4 separate regions of the Homo sapiens genome follow, and all the other regions are linked to region 3. Evidence: promoter capture Hi-C in 16 types of primary human blood cells and fetal thymus (Javierre and others, 2016). All regions are on one chromosome and are shown on one strand. The core of a region is centred on a gene start or on the middle of the fragment in contact, and the rest is flanking DNA. Distances in the headings are between cores, read along the strand shown. Region 1 overlaps SH3BGRL (SH3 domain binding glutamate rich protein like). Region 2 overlaps HMGN5 (high mobility group nucleosome binding domain 5). Region 3 holds the start of APOOL (apolipoprotein O like). Region 4 holds the start of BRWD3 (bromodomain and WD repeat domain containing 3).

Evidence for each region. The method cuts DNA at HindIII sites, captures the fragments that hold promoters and counts their contacts. A CHiCAGO score of 5 or more calls a contact.
Region 1: a contact is called between a fragment that was not itself captured here and the fragment with the promoter of APOOL in region 3, in 2 of 17 cell types (total B cells and non-activated CD4 T cells). The highest score is 9.2, in total B cells.
Region 2: a fragment that was not itself captured here is called in contact with the fragment with the promoter of APOOL in region 3 in 1 of 17 cell types (naive CD8 T cells); the score reaches 5.2 in naive CD8 T cells.
Region 4: a contact is called between a fragment that was not itself captured here and the fragment with the promoter of APOOL in region 3, in 5 of 17 cell types (naive CD8 T cells, non-activated CD4 T cells, total B cells and 2 more). The highest score is 12.3, in naive CD8 T cells.

Annotation. Positions count from the first base shown.
Region 1 is chrX:81,204,089-81,207,461 of GRCh38, reverse strand. The region is part of intron 1 of SH3BGRL (SH3 domain binding glutamate rich protein like); the gene reads right to left. Among named protein-coding and RNA genes, the nearest start is that of SH3BGRL, 3.7 kb to the right of the region's middle. The HindIII fragment of the contact is 1,675 bases long and covers 1,258-2,932 here.
Region 2 is chrX:81,117,633-81,120,812 of GRCh38, reverse strand. It overlaps HMGN5 (high mobility group nucleosome binding domain 5), which reads left to right. Exons shown (of 7, transcript NM_030763.3): 3 at 996-1,025; 4 at 2,054-2,083; 5 at 2,328-2,381. Among named protein-coding and RNA genes, the nearest start is that of HMGN5, 83 kb to the left of the region's middle. The HindIII fragment of the contact is 165 bases long and covers 1,681-1,845 here.
Region 3 is chrX:85,002,549-85,006,039 of GRCh38, reverse strand. APOOL (apolipoprotein O like) reads right to left here and starts at 2,163. Exons shown (of 9, transcript NM_198450.6): 1 at 2,113-2,163. The coding sequence starts at 2,127. The HindIII fragment of the contact is 4,827 bases long and covers 1-3,491 here.
Region 4 is chrX:80,807,214-80,810,352 of GRCh38, reverse strand. It overlaps BRWD3 (bromodomain and WD repeat domain containing 3), which reads left to right and starts at 476. Exons shown (of 41, transcript NM_153252.5): 1 at 476-912; 2 at 1,049-1,107; 3 at 1,311-1,340; 4 at 1,755-1,814. The coding sequence starts at 882. LOC124905202 (a long non-coding RNA gene) reads right to left here and starts at 1,545. Exons shown (of 2, transcript XR_007068278.1): 1 at 1,060-1,545. RefSeq lists an enhancer at 162-241. The HindIII fragment of the contact is 808 bases long and covers 996-1,803 here.

The DNA of each region.
Region 1 (3,373 bases), core at 846-3,345, 3.8 Mb after region 3:
ACTGTGACTAGTGACTAATTACACAATCCAGAACATTGTTTTATCTGTTGTTATAAATTGTGCAGAGTACAACCATAGAGAAAAATTATGTATATTTGTGAACAATCCAAGCTACAACTAGCTTCTGTTTTATCAGTTATATAAAATACATCAATTTTTAAAAGTTACTTCACAATTAAAACCCTAAGAAATCATCTATTTCCCACAATCTTAAAATTTCTACACCAAGGCACAAATAGAATGCATAGATGCCATGAAATGGAGATCATTATGGGTCTTGGGGAAATATGTATAGGGAAAAAACTCCCAAACCAGTTAAAATTCTCCAAGCTATCATCTCTCTAGCAATTCTCATCCTAGGCCAATGTTGATTTTTGTTAAGAAGTTATTGCAATTTATTAACTTATATAGGCTCTGAGATTACTATTCATTTTCCATTAAATGTAAATTTACAAGGCATTACAATCTCAAGAAACAAAACGTGGCATATACCTGTGTCACAGTGAGTTAAGACATGTATAAACAATTCTGAACAGGCAGAAATCACTTCATATAGACAGACTACTTGGAAGCTGCATTCTTGTTAAATGGTTCCCATCAAACTAAACAGTATTAAGGCCTGAATTTTATACCTTGACCTATACCAGACCAGTTTAGGCTTTCCAACTGTGTAGGTCTTCTCTATCTTCTTGGCCTTGGGTGAACAGTCACTTACCCTACTTACAGACATTCCCTTTTAGACACAATATCCCTCCTACACACTAGCTGCCCATTTCTCTATTCCCCTATATGCACATGCCCAGGCAACTCTTCTTCCACTTACAGGACTTACTTCCTCCCCTACCTCTTACTCGTGTTCAAATTTATTTCCTCATGCCTACTAGTTGCCATAAATCACTGGGAGGATGCATTTCTTGGTGGTTAAGTACATATTCTTTGGATTCAAACATCTTGCTTGGATTCAAGCTCTATGGCTTACCAACTGTGTAACCTTGAGAAAGTTATTTACTCTTTGAACCTGTATACTGTATTTCCTTCTCTGAAAAACAGAGATAATCATAGTGCTTAATTCAAAGGATTATTTTTAAAAATGAGATAGTATCTGACATACTTAGGGGCTTCTACTGACTATCATTATTATGGTTACCATCAAGAAGTCCATTACATTGGTCTGGGCAAAGATTTTTTGGGTAAAACCTCAAAAACAGGCAATGAAAGTAAAAATAGACAAATGGAACTATATTAAGCTAAAAAGCTTCTGCACAGCAAAGGAAACAATCAATAGAGTAAGGAGAAACCTAAAAATGGGAGGAAATATTTTCCAACTATCCATCTGACAAGAGATTAATATGTGGAATATATAAGGAAGTCAGTAGCAAAAAAGAAACCCACAAAAAAACAAATAATCCAATTTTTTTAAATGGCAAATGATTTCAATAAACATTTCACAAAAGAAGACATACAAATCGCAAACAGGTATAAGAAAAAATGTTCCGCATCACTAACCATCAGGAAAATGCAAATCAAAACTATAATGAGATAACATCTCACTCCAATTAAAATGGCTATTACCAAAAAGATAACAAATGCTGGTAAGGGCACTGAGAAAGCGGAATACTAGTACACTTTTGCTGGGAATGTAAATTAGTACAGCTGCTATGGAAAACAGCACAGAGATTTCTCAAAAAAACAAAAATAGAACTACCACATGATCTAGAGCTGCCATGGAAAACAGCATAGAGGTTCCTCAAAAAACAAAAATAGAACTATCACATGATTTAGCAATCTCACTTTTGGGTATATATCCAAAAGAAAGGATATCAGTATATCAAAGAAATATCTGCACTCCCATGTTTATTAAAGAACTATTCAAAATAACTATGATATGTGGCTAAGTGTCCATCAACGGTGAATGAATAAAGGAAATGTGATATATATATATATATATATATATATACACACACACACACACACATATATATACACACACTTATATATACACACATATATATACACACACAAAATAAAATATTATTCAGCCATAAAAATGATATTCTGTTATTTGTGACAACATGGATGAGCCTGGAGGACATTATTTTAAGTGAACTAAGACATAACACAGAAAGACAAAAGACATACCACACGTTCTCACCCATGTGGGAGCTAAAAAAGTCGATCCCATGAAGATATTGGGTAGAATGGATGGTGGTTACCAGAGGCTGAGAAGGGTAGGGGGAAAGAAGGATTAAGAGAGGTTGGTTAATGAGTACACAAATACAGTTAGATAGAAGGAATAAGATCCACTGTTCAATTGCACAATAGGGTGGCTATAGTTACCAATATAATTTACTGTATAGCTAGAAAAAACAGCTAGAATGTTTGGAATGTTCCCACCACAAATAAATGATAAATGTTTGCGGTAACGGATATCCTAATTACCCTAATTTGATCATCACACATTGTGTGCATGTATCAAAAGATCATATGTCCCCCATAAATATGCACAATTATGATATATCAATAAAAATAAAAAATGAAATCCATTGCAAAGACCAACATACTTGTTTTCATTTCTAAACTTTCAAGAAGCAAGTGCTACTCTTCACTATTAGGCCACTTTTTTTGTTTTGTTTTGTTTTTGAGAGAAAGTCTCGCTCTGTTGCCCAGGCTGGATTGCAGTGGTGCGATCTCTGCTCACCGCAAGCTCCGCCTCTTGGGTTCACGCCATTCTCCTGCCTCAGCCTCCCGAGTGGCTGGGACTGCAGGCGCCCGCCACCATAATAAGTTAACATTGTCTTGCCAATTATCACAGATCCAGATCCCCCACTCTGCCCAGTATAACCAGTATAACATCTGTTGTTTTTTTTTTTAATGACAACCAGTAGGAAGATTAAGAAACAGTCAGCTACCACCAATCCAAAGCAAAGAAGCTTTTAACTGTTCTTCAGACAACTAAACTTAGTCACTTATTGAAGTATCTCACTATGTGCAATTGTAGGACTCCATCAGGATATTTGCTCAAAACTTTCTAACTTATGTATTAAAACAAACAGGGCATCAATCTTAAAGGAAAACTTTAGTACAGCAAACTGAAAAGTGCCTTTCTGAAGTAAATAATCACCACTCCATTCATGTTACAAAGAAGTACTCACTTTACACTGTTTTGGTATTATTTAAAAGTGTTGTAATAGTATAATAAAGCAAGGATTTATTTTGGCATTATGAAGTAGAATTTTGATAACAGGTTCATTGAACTATAATTACTACAGTAGATAAATTTCTAATAAATTTCTAACTACTCATGACAAAAAATTGAAATAAAATACAAATACCATAAACATCTGCCATTTGCATGGTCTTCAACAATAAAGTC
Region 2 (3,180 bases), core at 514-3,013, 3.9 Mb after region 3:
ATCTGAGCCTTTCGAGCTCCACAGGTCTTCTGCAAACCCTCACTTCACAATTCCTGGCTCCTCGCAGACAGGAAACAAGTTCACGCTCGGCGTTTTTTTCTTAGTCCCCTAGAAGTGAAATCGAACGCTGTTTCATTGCTTGGTAAAACCGTATAACACTATGCTAAGACATTATGATTGTTTTTGGATTATTCCTATAAACAACTCCGCCTTCCTTATTCCTAAAACATAGGAATAATACTGAAATTCCCCCGTGCTCTGTGGCTGTCTGAATCGTGCAATAGCTTGATAATTCTCAGGCTAAAGGGCTGCTCAGATATGGAAAACAACTGTTTCTAATCACCATCCCCCCTTCCTGAGATTCCCGCCACTGTGCTTTTCTATACTTGTGCAGTAGGTCTTGCTGTTTTCCAGAGCTGACAGCAACCTTAAAGCAGGTAGTGGCGGGAAGTTTTAAAATCGGCGGCCAGTTTCTTAGAATAAAGCATTGACTTTGTAACAAAGAGGTCTCCCCAAGAAAACACTGTGGGGGCTGTAATTCTTGCATGCAAAACTTGGAGAAAATAGTCCAGAATCAGTGGAGAGGATAAGATAGGTACAATTGCATGGCAAACATAAGGCAAGAAAGCGAAATTGCATGAAGCTCCGCCTTCATTTGACCCACCCCCACATTTTTGGCTTTTACATTATCTAAAGCAGGTGGATTTCAAAATTACAAAGGTTTGCTTTTAGGAGATGCAATTTACACAAAAGGATGAAATTAACTATCAATTGTGTAAAAGTATGTCTTGTGCATGCACTTGCATCTTGGTGCACATTAGTAAAACAGCAGTATGTAGCATGGTTCCTAAGAAACAACACGTGTCTACTTGAGCAGGAACCCAGGAGAAAGTAATAAGCAATTATATTGAAATTTGTAATCCGCAGGCAGTATTTTCTGATTTATGTGTTTATATCAATGACCTTATTTCTGTGTGGTTTTCTCCTCTGTGTAGGCTGCAGGTCAAGGTGATATGAGGCAGGAGGTGAGTTTCTTTAGTCTTAGCATCTATTAGGAAAAACCACTCGTTTTATAAACTTGACATAAGCAGCTAAAAAATAGATGCTGGTTGGTATATTTGTACAATATGAGTTCCAATATGGTATACCAGTGGGATCTCTCAAAAATATATATCCGAATTTCAGAAGAGAGGACTTTTTAAAATTGCCATTCAGAATAAAAGAAAAGGCTTTTTCACTTTTTTTTATAGAAATGATGGTACGGAAATATTCTTGACAATAGAGATGTGCTAATATTTTATTTGGGTGTTTTGTGGGTTAGACTATGATTTGGTGTGTGTACTTTACAGGCTTACATGTTGCTTACTTTAGAAAGTTGAGGCTCTAAATGACTGTTCACATATGTGAAACATTTCTTAAAGTACTATATAGTTTTTGTTATTGCATTAAATATATATTGTTCTAACTCCTAGAGTATGCCATCTTCTATATGTCCTACAAAGCGAGAATCATTGTTGTGCGACAATTATATTAAAGAAACCTCTCAGTTTACCTTTATGGCCTTGTTAATCTAATATTTTGGTCAATGCATATTATTAATTTTAATCTAATTAATGCACAATAAAAATATACTGAGTGTGAAAAAAATGTATATATAGTAAGTATTAAAAACTGCAAGCTTCTTCGAATTTAAGACCTTATTGTGCTTGTTCAGATGTGGAGAGAACTTCTTCCTTTTAAGCAAAATAATTGCTTTGTCATTTGGCAAGAAAAGGCTATATTTTCATTTCTAAATGTGCTCCTTGTTACTAGCTACTGTGTTAATTTAGCCTAGCTGCTTAAGCTTAATTTGGGACTTTTTCCTTAGTATGTAAAGTGTTCAGAGGACGGAAAAATCAAAACTTATATTTCTCTTGTATTTTCTAACCAAATTCACAATTACTTAATGACAATATTTATGTATTGTTACACCAAATATTTTGACCTCAATAAAAATAATTCTAGCTTTTTGTATCCATAATTCTCTTAACAGATTTTTGTTTTTAACTTATAGCCAAAGAGAAGATCTGCCAGGTTGTCTGCTGTAAGTAATCTTTTCAAAAAGCAGCCCATGTATTGTGAAACGTCATTTTAAAATTTAGGGAATCCTAAAATATTCAATACACGATTTATTTTTGAAGTTTTAAGAAAAACTTTCACACCAAGGAAATGTATTTTTTTTCCTAATACTCATTTATTTTAATTCAGAGGTTGGATTTCATTTTTAGCGTTCTTTCTTCAAATATGATTTTTTTCCTTTTCTTTTCTTTTCCCACAACTTGAAGCAGATGCTTGTGCCAGTTACACCAGAGGTGAAGCCTAAAAGAACATCAAGTTCAAGGGTAAATATTCAACGTAGAATATTGAAATAAATTTGCTTTTTTTTTCAAAAATAATTTTTGAAATGGCATACAGCTGATCATTTTACTTTGCTTATATTTTGTTCAGTTAGTAATATATTATATTCTATCATATGATACATGTAAACCCCTTGGGTGGGGATTATTTGTTCTGTTTTGTGATTGTCCACAGTGTTTTGACATTTTCACTGGGTAGAGACAAAACAATTTCAGTTGGATAGGCCCATTAAATGTACATGCCTTTGCTATCATATAGTGACAATACTGTTTCCCTGGGAAAACAAAAGGTGAAAACAGTAGTAACCCCAAAGTTGTGCTTTGTAATAAAAGTAGTAACTAACATTTGATAATATTTTACAGTTGGCAAAGTATATAAGATTATATATAATTATATATATAATATATGTAAGATGTATTTGCATATGTTAATTTTAAATGGACACAATTGATTTTGTATGGACTTATATACTCTGGTGTTATGGCTAAAGGCATGTAGAAATAGATATAATCTCAATATTTAGTTTACTGCTAATTGCTTAATACATAAGAATATTGATTGAATTCCTGAAATCATAAAAGGTTAAAGCTATGAGAAACATTAGAGAGCATCTAATCCTATCACTTTGTAGTTGAAGAAAGTATAAACTGTCATTATGTTCATAAATGAAATCCTTTATTAAAAAATATTGCTAAACTTAGGGAAATTGAAGTTTTAGTAATAATTGATATATTTAATGGTGACAAAAGAAAAGAAGGTTTTTTTTTCTGCATTTTACTTTTC
Region 3 (3,491 bases), core at 914-3,413:
TAACACATGTAACGTGTTTTAGCATAGTGCCTGGCCTGGAGTAAGCACTTAATAAATGATAACAGCAGCAACTTATTAATGGTGAAATCAAAGGACTGTTCAACTCTCTTCTTCTCAATGAAAACACACTATTCTGGTTTGCTTTTTGCCACTGACCATTCCTTCTGTCTCTGCACCTTCTCCATGAAGCCTCTTTTTACTCTCTTCAAACCAAGTGTGAGCTCTCTCCTTTTGAGCGTCAGAGCACTTTGTACTTCTCTTCAGGTAAGAAACTCCCCTTACTCTGAATCACAGTCATTTGTGTTATATGTGTTATATCTCCACCACTTAATCTCTTCTGTCCTCATTGCCTGGCACTTTATTCATGTAGAACATGTTGACTACCTAATATACATCAGACCTGTGCTAGGTACTACGGATACAAAGGTTAATATAATTACTGTCTTCAAGGAGCTTATAGTTTAGGTAGCTAGAACAGACAAGTAAGTAGTCTATATGTGCAGTGGAATAAATGCTTGGTTAAGAGTGTGCCCAGAGTCCTCTGGGAGCACAAACAAGAGTTATTAAAATAGACTGGCGAGGACCGGGCGTGGTGGCTCACGCCTGTAATCCCAGTACTTTGGGAGGCCCGGGGGGGGGGGGGGGTGAATCACGAGGTCAGGAGTTCGAGACCAGCGTGACCAACATGGTGAAACCCCGTCTCTACTAAAAAATAAAAATAAAAAAATTTAGCCGGGCATGGTTGGCATGCGCCTGTAGTCCCAGCTACTCAGGAGACTGAGGCAGGAGAATCGCCTGAACCCGGGAGGTGGAGGTTGCAGTGAGCTGAGATCGCGCCACTGCACTCAAGCCTGGGAGACAGAGAGAGACTCCGTCTCAAAAATAAAAAATAAAATAAAATAAAATAGACTGGGGAGATCAAGGACACTATTAAACAAGGCATTTTTGTGTTTTGCATATGGGGAGGCTGTACACAAATAGCTGCTGAATGAATGAATGAACTATAAATACAACTAGATAAGCATGGGAAAAGGCACTTTAGGCCCAGAGAAAGAGCACGTAAAAAAGCATGGCGGGGTCAAGCAAGCAGCTCAGTATCGACAGGAGGAGGGTTCCTGAGTGACAAGAGATGAGGCTGGAAAGTCTAGGTAAAATCAGATGTTCTAGACATAAGAGTATGGCCTGACCCCAGAGGGGAGATGATGACATGCCCATAAAATTTTTTAAATGCGGGGGGAGGCAAAAATCAAATTTGCATTTTGGTAGATGTACTCTGGCAACACAGAGGAAAACAGATTACATGAGAGCCAGGCTTGAGGTGGCAAGTTCAGGTAGGAGGTTGTTCAAATAACTCAGATGAAGTATGAGAACCAGAACTGTAGACGCTGCCGACTTAAAACTTCAGCGGAACTGAATTATTCATACTGTATCTCCTGCAAGCCTAACAGAATATTTTACAATTAAAACCCGCTACGTAAATATCTGTAGACTACCATTATTAAACACTACTTAGGGAACTGCAGCAAGCTGCCAGCTGAGTCACTCACTGTACACGGACTCCCAAGTAAAGGCACCTTTCCCAAGCGTAAAACTCGAAAGGAACAGGTTATTCGAGCACAGAAAGCAACAACACTATGTGTAAACCAGCGCACTGCTGAAAGACTATGGGACCTCTCTATCCTGGTCAGTTTCACCCCAAATGTTTCAACAAAGTCCTTCCATAGGGTCATGTGGCCTTGCCCTGTGCGCCGAGACAAATGCCAAGTTTATATATATATTTTTCTCTTTATTGCAGCTGAAGACCGAAACGTCTACTGCGGCTCGTCGCCTGGCCAGCCATTTTCACCCAGCCGTTTCCCAGTTTTGTACTGTGCCACTGTGTAAATCGACAACCACAGGGGATTGAGGGAGCAGCGTCCCAGGCTGATAAAACCCTAATGGGGAAAGGCAGGTGTCTTGAGGCTTCAAACGATAAAGATTGCAATTATCTCAAAACCCACCTCCACCCTGCCCCTTGTTTCAGGGCTCCTTCAGAAGTTAGTAGGATCCCTTTTACAGTTACCGGGATGCTATCGGCACCCACAGAAATTAAGCAAGTTGGTTTTCGCTTACCCTGATGGCCGCCATGTCTACAACCCTTTCGGCCAAGGTTTTCAGACGGAGAGCAGAGAGGGACAAATCAGTTCGACTAGGCTTCCCTTAGGACAGCCCCACCCCGTTACGCCCCTTGCCTGCCAGTTACCGCCTTTTCTCCGCCCTCCTCCAGCCGCCTTGGCAACTGCTGCGGTTTCGGTCAGCTGTCTTCTGGAGAAACTGTTCACCCCTGTGGTTGACCCTCCCGGTCCCAGATAAAGCCTTCCAGAACATTATCAATAGTCCAGTTGGGAGTTATTTTCCTGGGTGCAGAACTTTTAATTATTTTGTTTCGGGCATATGTGATATGTCCAGATAAGGACTTAATACCCAAATGTAGCTGCTTTAATAATTAATTATATAGTAAGAAAAACAACTTATTACCTCTGCGAAACATGGGTAAGTTCATTCATTCTAAAACTAAGTCACGGAGAGCATACTCTGTGCCGGGCAGTTGTTCGGGGCATAGACAAAACATAGTGGCTTCCTCACAGAGCTTATGATTACAGGAGTAAAAGAGACAAATGAGGCCGGCGCGGTGGCTCACGCCTGTAATCCTGGCACTTTGGGAGGCCGAGACGGGCGGATCACGAGGTCAGGAGATCGAGACCATCCTGGCTAACACGGTGAAACTCCGTCTCTACTAAAAGTACAAAAAAAATTAGCCGGGCGTAGTAGCGGGCGCCTGCAGTCCCAGCTACTCGGGAGGCTGAGGCAGGAGACTGGCGTGAACCCGGGAGGCGGAGCTTGCAGTAAGCGGAGATCGCGCCACTGCACTTCAGCCTGGGCGACAGAGCGAGACTCCGTCTCAAAAAAATAAATAAATAAATAAAAATAAATAATAAATTTTAAAAAAGAGACAAATGCTATGAAGGAAAATAAAACAGTATGGGAATGAGGTGGGAGTTTACTGGTTTATATCAATGAGAGAAAGACTCTGATAAGCTCATTTGATAAAAGTCCTGGAGGAATTTAGAGAAGAGGGTTGCATACGGAAGGAACAGCAATGAAAAAGTCCAGTGAGGCTGGAGCAATAATTTCAGAGGTAGCGAAGTAACACAGTGTAGGGGCTTTCGTGCCGCCAAAATAAATTTGGATTTTATGCTGAATAAGATGGGAAATCATTGGAGGATTTTGAGCAAAGGTGTGATGTGATCTAATTTACATTTTTAAAGGATGATTTTGGTGCTATCAGGAGAATATACTAAGGGTATATTGCAATATTCACAACAGGAGCAAGGTCTGCTGTAGGCCTCCCTGAAGGATTCTGAGGAAAGAAGATGCTCATAATATGCCCATTAACAGTCCCAATATTAATTCATGTATTCATTCATTCAATCAACAAATATTTATTATGT
Region 4 (3,139 bases), core at 150-2,649, 4.2 Mb after region 3:
TCACGACCAAATAGCGACTCATCCTCCCCCAGGCATAAAACCCTTTAGCCAGCTAGCCGCCTTTCCACGGGGTAGAGTATAAACAGCAAACAAAACCGCTTTGGTACCGGGAGGAAAAAGGGGAAAGGAGTCGAGTCAAAACACCGTCTCTTAAGTTCCTCAAGATCAACCCAGGGGGAAGGGTCCTCCACCGGAAAGGGCCGGATTGCCTTCACAGGAAGGGAAAGTCACTCCGGAGCTCGCAGACGCGAATGCCACCACAGAGTTCCAAGGCGGCTGCCAGAGCGTCGGCCGTCAGTTAGCACCTCCCCCTCCTTCCCAGAGCTGTAGCTAAGCAACCATCGGGCTCCGGGAGAGTCTAGGCTCAGCTGCTGTATTAGTGCCTCTAGCGGGGAACTATGAGCGCTGCAAAACCCTATCACCATTTTTACCCTCCCCTCTCTCCACCCCCTTTGCCCCCGCCCACCTCTTCGCCACTTCGGCTCCTCCCTCTTCTCGCTCCGTCTATCTCTCTCTCTCTCTCTCTCTCCGCCCCCCCACCCCCCGCGTCTCTCTCTCTCTCTCTCTCTCTCTCTCTCTCTCTCTCTCTCTCTTTTTCCTCTCTCTCTCTCTCTCTTCTCTCTCTCTCTCTCACTCACTCACTCTCTCTCTCCCTCTCCCTCTCCTCTCCTTCCTCCTCCGCCTCCTCAGCTCTTGGGCTAGAATATCTATGGGTCGAAACGTGATGCGATGAATTCGAGAGAGAGCGAAACTAGGACGAGGAGTGCGGCGGAAGCGGCGGGACTCCCGGGCATGGGGGCTTCACCACAATAGAGGCAGCGCCCCCACCCGCCCCCGCCAGCCCCTCCGGAGCGAAGCCCCCAAACCCCCTCGGGAAAAGGATGGCGGCAGCACCTACCCAGATCGAAGCCGGTGGGTAGCTGTGTCGGGGGGTGGGGGGGTGCTAAGGGAATGGGGGCTTAGCGCGAAGGCTGTCAGTTTCTTTTGAAAAAGCTTCTATTTCTCTTCTCTACCTCCCTCTGAACCTCTTTTCCCCCCTCTTCCCCAGAGCTGTATTACCTGATCGCTAGGTTCTTGCAGTCTGGACCCTGCAACAAATCCGCTCAGGTAAGGGGAAGAAAGAGATCTGGGAGTCGTGGTGAATGGTCCCAGTGGGGAAATCGAGGCAGCGGGACGAGCAGTTCCGTTGAGGGTGAGGGAAAGGCCGGCCTTGACTAGTCAAACGGTCAGCGGCTGGGCTTTAAGTGTGGAGGGAGGAATGGGTTGATGGCCCGAGCTGCTCCTCATATCTGTGTTTCCCTTTTGCTCAGGTGCTAGTGCAGGAGCTCGAGGAGCATCAGGTACGGAGCCCCTTCGGGAAGGGTGGGGAGGGTTGAGGTGAGACTGGAGGAAGGGGAGGGCAAGTCAGGGGCGGAAGACGGGCTGGGATAGAGGCTTCGATCTGGGTACCCGTAGCTGTTGTCACCGGGGTGAATTGGCTTCTTCCCTCAAAAGGGGCAGACAACGCTGGGGTCTTAACTCGTCCCCGCTTTATGCTTGTGGGAGGCAGTTTTTCAGGATTTCCTTCTCGACCCCCCTTCCCCCCCCCCCCCATATACTTGTCTAGCTCTGAGCCAATAGCTATCAGGCCGAGAGAAATAAAGACGGTAAAGTGTTGAGGACTGGGACACAGGTTGGGTCCAGTTGATGGGGAGCGGAGGCTTTTCCTTCATCATTTGCCTCCGCTTCCCCCTTTCTTTTCGTCCGGCCCCCAGCTGATTCCGCGCCGCTTAGATTGGGAGGGGAAAGAGCACCGAAGAAGCTTCGAGGATCTGGTGAGTAAAGTTTTCATTTCAACTTAACCTAACTCTTTCACCACTCCCTCCCCACCTTGTACCCCCAACCCGCCCCCCACCTCTCAGCCGACGAGGTTCTAGAGCTCGGTGCAGAGCCAAAGAACGACTGCCCCTTCCCCCATCCCTGCTAGTCGGAAAAAGGGTACCTTGCCCTCCCCTTGGCCCTGCTTGTTTCCACCCGAAAACTTTGAAGAATGTGAGTTGATTATCAGAGGTGCCGTGTTGTGGATTATGAATATGTTACAAACATTGGGGAAGGCCCATTGTAGGCGGAAAAGGGAGAGAAACCAAGGGGTTATCTTGGGGCACGTACTAAGGTCTGACGCTGGCCAATGACAGCGTTGGTAACAGCCCGGAGTTCCGGATTAGTGGAAGAAAACTGGTTTCTGGTTGGTCCTGGCCTGAAATACGGGAACTAAGGCCAGGCTTGGTCTTTTTTGGGGGGGGCGGGGGGGCAGGGGGGAGGCGTGGGAGGAAGGGGCTCTGGAGGGGAATTGACGGACCAGGGATTAGGAAAAACGACATAATTAAAAATAATAAGGAGCGTCAAGCCAATTTCAAATTTTGCCGGTTAGGTAATGGTCTACTGAGTAAAAGCATAATCGTTACGTATCTCCGATTTTATAAGCTCATTCAATTATCAGTTAAGTCGCATTTGCATAGACCCGTTTTCACTAAATAGAAACTGAGTTATCACTTTTTGAGAATTGGTGAAACACGATTTTGGGTTTACAAGGAGACAACAATGGACATATTTAAAAATGGAATATACTTTAGTGAAGGACCAAAGGCATTGGTCTATGTTGTTTCTCCTGCAAATATAATTCATAGTATAAATGTACCTTGTGTTCAGCATTGACACACAAAAACAGGTGATCCTTTTTATTTTGCGGGGGAGGTTCCCTTGTGTTAGCTGCTGCCACAGTGCATTGGAGGGTAGTGAAAGGAGAAAGGAATGATGTTACTAAAATCTAAATTCAGCTATCTTTCCTTCAAGTAAGATCCAAGTGGAGGAAAATCGGACAAAGTTAAAGAAAGTTGGCGGTGTATGATAGACTCTAAATATAAATGATTTAAAATTTGCTTGCAATAAGACTATATTTAAATTGCTTCAATGTTCATTTTGTTATTTTTGTTTGTGTTATCTTACAACAGTGAGGCCACATTATTATTATCAAGTCTACCGACTGTATAGTTTTCTTATATTTTGCAAATCACAGAAAATGGTATAATTGTGATAAGGGTAAACTCGACCATCTGTATTATTAATAGTAACAATTTCTCAGATGGAGAAAAATTAGTTT